Linked DNA regions of Homo sapiens: region 1 is linked to region 2. Evidence: promoter capture Hi-C in 16 types of primary human blood cells and fetal thymus (Javierre and others, 2016). All regions are on one chromosome and are shown on one strand. The core of a region is centred on a gene start or on the middle of the fragment in contact, and the rest is flanking DNA. Distances in the headings are between cores, read along the strand shown.

What was found. The method cuts DNA at HindIII sites, captures the fragments that hold promoters and counts their contacts. A CHiCAGO score of 5 or more calls a contact.
Region 1: a contact is called between a fragment that was not itself captured here and the fragment with the promoter of LINC00917 in region 2, in 1 of 17 cell types (endothelial precursors). The highest score is 10.8, in endothelial precursors.

What each region holds. Positions count from the first base shown.
Region 1 is chr16:86,495,442-86,498,141 of GRCh38, reverse strand. The region is part of intron 1 of FENDRR (FOXF1 adjacent non-coding developmental regulatory RNA); the gene reads left to right. Among named protein-coding and RNA genes, the nearest start is that of FENDRR, 12 kb to the left of the region's middle. The HindIII fragment of the contact is 5,562 bases long and covers 1-2,700 here.
Region 2 is chr16:86,344,284-86,346,983 of GRCh38, reverse strand. LINC00917 (long intergenic non-protein coding RNA 917) reads left to right here and starts at 1,305. Exons shown (of 7, transcript NR_024406.1): 1 at 1,305-1,492. The HindIII fragment of the contact is 3,722 bases long and covers 442-2,700 here.

The DNA of each region.
Region 1 (2,700 bases), core at 175-2,674, 150 kb before region 2:
TCCCCAAAACCCTCCCAATTTTTAAAATTTGGTCGGGTGCGGGCCGAAATTGGGGTACAGGCGGTGCGGGGGTGGGCGGGTGGGGGACGCGCAGATGTGAGACTCCCGGGTTACTGTAGTAAGCTCTATTTGGGGCGGGGCGCGCCCGCGGAGACCCTGCGCGGCGGGAGGGACATGTGCACAGGCGCGTGGGGGTGGGGTGGTTGTGAACCAGGGAACGCAGACCCCCGAGAACCGCCAGATAGTCGCTGCGTCCACTTAACCCGGCGGCAGAGCCCTCCGCATGATTGCTCTTCCTCCACCAAAAGCCCACCCCAGCAAGCGTGGGCCTCCAACCCCAGGCCGGAGGTCCCAGGCTGCGTCTCACCTCCCGCCCCCTTCCCCCGTCCCCGCCTTGCGTCCGGCTTAACGAAGACCGCTCGGGTTCCAACTCAATTAGCTCGCTGCAGAGGCCGCCGCCGGCGTCGAGCTCCTCCAGCAATTAGGGGCGCGCCGGCTGGGGCCGGGGGCGGGGGCGGGGCGGGCAGGTAAAGACGGAACCAATTTGCCTAGAGGGTTTATCAACAAGTGGCTTAACTAGGAATTTGCGTTGACAACTCAGCACCTCCGTCGGGGCTCCGGAGGCGGCGGAGGGCCGAGATGACAGGCTGAATGGAGGGGCGGGGGCGGGGGGGGCGTCCTGGGAGCCGGGAAGACCGAGGCTTCAGAGCCACCCGAAGCCACCTCGGCCGAGCCCCGCGCGCGGCGTGTGCCGAGTGGACCGGAGCACCCGGGGCGCGTTGCCGGGACTCGGGGCTCGGCAGGCGGGCGAGCACGGGCCGGTGGGCGCTGGACTGTCTTTCCCGACGAAGTAGGTGGCCGTGTATATTTTTGTTCAAGTGGTGTTTATGTTAATGAAAAAAGGATGGAATTACAAACAGCCAGCCGATCGCGCCGCGGCCGCCGGAGACTCGCCGCGCTCTGGTCCCAGGCCCAATCAAAGGGAGCGCGCTCTGGGCCGCTCTGGGACCTCCAGCAGAAACCTTCTCCCCCCCACCTCCTCTAACTGGGTGAAATTGCCCTGCCCGCCTCTCTAACTTTCTCCAAATCGAGAACCCTCTGTTTGCAATCAGCCCCCTCACCTCGTTCCCCCCACCAACCCTCGGTAGCGCAATCAGGTTTGTGGATAAGAAAAACCCTAATTTAAGTCCCGCAGCTCCTTTTTTTTTAAGGAGCACTCAGATAACGCTTCCGGGACACTCGGATGCGGCTAGAACTCAGTCTCCCTTATCCCCTTCACCGCTCTGCTCCTTTTCATTTTCGTTTTTTTCTTTGTTTTTAATAATATAATTAGCCCGGATTTTGACATTATTTCCTGGCCGGCTGCCTTTTTTTTTTTTCTGGGGCTAAGCAATTAGATTTTCTAAAGGCCCTATCAAGTCCTTCCATCCCGAGAGAACTTTTTTTTCTCTCCCCCTTTTCCGGATCCCACTGCCGTCTTTTCCTCCGTGGATAGGCAAGGACCCTGGCGGTGCTGCCCTCCTTTGCTTTGGTTAGAGGAGAACGGCCAGCAGGAGAGACAGCCCGACTTGCAGCAGCGGGAGAGAGACTGACCCACGAGGCTGGTGACCTGGGCCGTGTCTGTGGCCCTGGGACAGGGTCGGTGTTTCCTGGGTCAGGGCAGCCAGGCTGATGCGGGCACCACGCCTTTGGGCGACCACAGCCCGGCGCTTCCAGGTCCGGTCCACTTATCAGACACCGCATAGCTGCGTCTCCACAGACAAGGTGAAACGGAGACTCGGCGGGCGTCTAGCCCAGTGGAACTTTCGGAGCCGTGTCTAATCTTTTCCTAGAGGAACTTTGACTGGGGAGATTTGGGTTGTCCGCCCTATTTTCTCTGGTGGTCGCCATAGTCTGCTTGTGTAGATGCTGTTCCCTCCCTTTCTGGCCAGTTCAGCCTGGGTGTGGGTTCATTGGACCCCCGCCCGCCTGCAGGTGGAAGGCAGGGCCCAGAGAACACCCGGCCTGGGTTTTCCACCTGGAGAGATGGACCTCCTGGCACCGCTGGGGCGCCATCCCCCAAGCCCTGTTGTGAATCTCTGCTTTCCCCGTTACTACAAAGAAGACCGACACTGCTTCACACACGCTTTGAAGGCCGAGCTCACCAGCCTGGTAATCAGATTAGCACCCCGGCGGTAAAGAAGTCAGTCGATCCCAGGAAACAACACTTCACAAGGAAGAGGGGACATCGAGAGATAGATAATTACTGGACCAAATTAAAGTTTTGCTTGTAAACTTTCTCCCCCATGGAAGGAGAGTTGTTCTGAGGGTGGTTCCTTCCAACTCCTCCAAAGTTGACGTAGCGATAATGCTCACAGCCTAGGGAGTGAGTTACTTGGGGATGAGGCATTTCTTTGAGGACTTTGTCCCACTTTCTCTCCTCTGCCACCTCAGAGGAGAGCAGCAGACCCCTTGATTGGGGGCCGGGAGGTTGCTGCCCCCCATCAAGGGTCAGCCTGGGGGCTGCTTCCAGGGCCTTGGGTAACAGAGTGGGTCAAGCATGGGGAAGGCGAAAGGCTGTGTTTTTATCTCCAGATCAAAGGATATTGAAGTGGAAGGTGCAAACTAGGTGTGTAGGTGCATTTTTGAGAATAGCAGCATCATAGTTTCCACCGGATACAGCAAGTCCCTAACACATCTCCCTCCCAAATAAAAACGACC
Region 2 (2,700 bases), core at 56-2,555:
TCAGTTCCCCTCTCTGAGCTTCCTTTGTCTCATCTGTAAAATGGGGACAAAATATAAAATGTAAAAATACAAACCAGGAAGTTGGAAGTCATACACTTTCTGATTTCAAAAGTTACTAGAAAACTATGACAATCAAAACACTGTGGTCCTGACCTACATACAGACAGATAGACCAATGGGACAGAACACAGAGCCCAGAAAGAAGCCCTTTGACTTATTTGACATTCAAGTGTCTTGAGCCAAGACCCTTCAGTGGGGAAAGGGCAGTCTTTTCAAAAAATGGTATTTGGAAAACCAAATACCACACGCAGAAGAATGAAGTTGAGCCCTTCTCTTACACCAGATACAAAAAATTAACTCAAAAAGGATCAAAGGCATTACCATAATAACTAAATGTAAAAAAACTACAAAACTCTTAGAAGAAAACATAGGGGGAAAGCTTCACAATGTTGGACTCGGCAGTGGCTTCTTGGCCACGACACCCAAGAACAGGCAAGAAAAGGAAAAACAATTAAATCCATGCAAACACGTGTGCACAAATGTCCTCAGAGCGCTATTCCTAACAGCCAAATGCTGAGAGCAACGAAAATGTTCATTGACAGGAGAATGGATAAACAAAACGTGGTCCATCCATACAGTGGAATATTATTCAGCCTTAAAAAGGAAGGAAGTTCTGACACCTGCTATGACATGAGTGAGCCTTGAGGATATGGTGCCGAGTGAAACAAACCACTCATAAAAGGACAAACATTGTATAATTCCACAGACATGACTTGCCTAATGTCAGCAAATTCTCAGAGATAGAAAATAGCAGGTGGCGGAGGGCTGCTCAGGGTTACGGGGATGGGGGTGGTGTTTAACAGGGACCTTCCTGAGCTATTTCCTGATAGCAGCTGGGAGCCTTTTGAACAGCCTGCAGCGGGATTCTGGAACAATCTAAACTGGCCATGGCAGTTCCAGGGGCAGGGCTGACTTTGAACTCCAGCAGGAAGTGCAGTGCGAGGCCAGCTCACCCACTTCAGCGTCTCTTTCCTTTGTGTTGTTTAGACCCCCAAAAACACCCCCAAGTCCTGTCTCCCCTTGTGGAGGAAAGGCTGGTGGGAGGAAAGAAGGCTTGTTGAGTATCTACTGCACACCCGGCCCTGGGGCTACGGCTGGAAGCTGGACAGGCCGGGTCCTTGCCCTCCTGAGACCTGCCTTCTAGTGGGGAGAGAGATAGAGACGGAGGAAACAAAACACAGACCAGAGGATTTCAGAGGGTCTGAGGGCTCCGAGGAGAAGGAACACGATGATGTCATAGAGTCATTGTGGGGGAGGGGCCGGCCAGCCAGGGCAGGCAGGGGCGGCCTCTCTGACGAGAAGGAGGCCACTGGGCTGAGGCCAATGAATGGGAAAGAGCCAGCCATGTGGTGAGCTGGGAGAGGGCATCCCAGGCCGTGCGACCTGCGCTTGCAAAGGCCCTGGGGCCGGACAGTTCTTGGCAGAGTCTGAGGTACAGGATGATCCCTGGATGAGCGCCTGAGTGCACGAAGCATGGGTGGAGAGGGTCAGCTCCCAGCGTGGCTGCAGGAGGGGGTCGTGTAATGAATACTAAGTGCCAGTTCTGCAGGATGGAAACAGTTTTGAAATTGGACGGTGGCGATGGTGGTGCGATAATGCGAATGGACCCAATGCCACTGAAATATTCACTTTAAAAAAGTTAAAATGGCAAGGTTTACATTAACTAGACTTTGCCATAATAAAAGAAAAAGGAAAAAATATAATAACTGTGTGAAGTTGAGATGAAATGATGCAACTAATAATTTAGTTTGGTTAGCAAAGAGTAGGCACTCACATAGTTCAATATAACCATCATTATGACGGTACCCTGTCAGTGCTGGGGGATGCTTTATGAGGGAGGTGGAAGACGAGGAGGAGGCGGAGAGAGAAAGAGAATCAGCTTCTGTTATCCACAGCAGGATGCCTCTGGAGTTGTTTGAAGTAGAAAGGTAGTCCATGTGATCCCGTTTATATTGTAATATTGCTTGAGTAGGTCTTTAAAATTACAAAGTACTAGATAGAGCTAACTCAGCCCAGTCCTAATAATCACGACTCCTTGAGTATCTGTGAGGCTTCTGGTACGTTCTCTACAGTCCCAACATTGGGACCGACTGAACCATGTGTTGCACATTAAATCCAGGGTCCGGGACACCTCCCAGGCCACCTCTGTCATTTCACAAGTGCCAGGCCATCTTCTCAGTGCTTGTGAGCATCCCTTCACACTCAATCCTTCCCACACACCTGCCAAAGGGAAGGAGGCAGGAACCACCTACGGATGCCAAGAAACAGGCGGCATGGTCCTCCCGCCCTCGAGGCTGTTACCACCTGGAACACCCCACCCCAAAAGTAAGACCACCTACCATCTGGGCTTCTGTCTCACACAGGATATAGCCTCTCAGTGGCCAACTGTTTTTAATAAGGGTCTGCCAGTTCTAATGATATTGCACAGACACGGGGAAGGGGAGAGAGGAGACAGGACTTTGTCATGAGCTGTTCATCCCTCCAACAGCAGTGCTGGTGTCACGGCTGATGGGCAAAATTCCTACAGATGCCTTCTCTTAGAAACTCACTTCCCTCTGGAACCAGACGCAGGCTTCTCCAGGAAACAGCTCACTACCTGACACAATCCCCAACCCCCCTCTGTCTTCTTTTCCCTTTTGC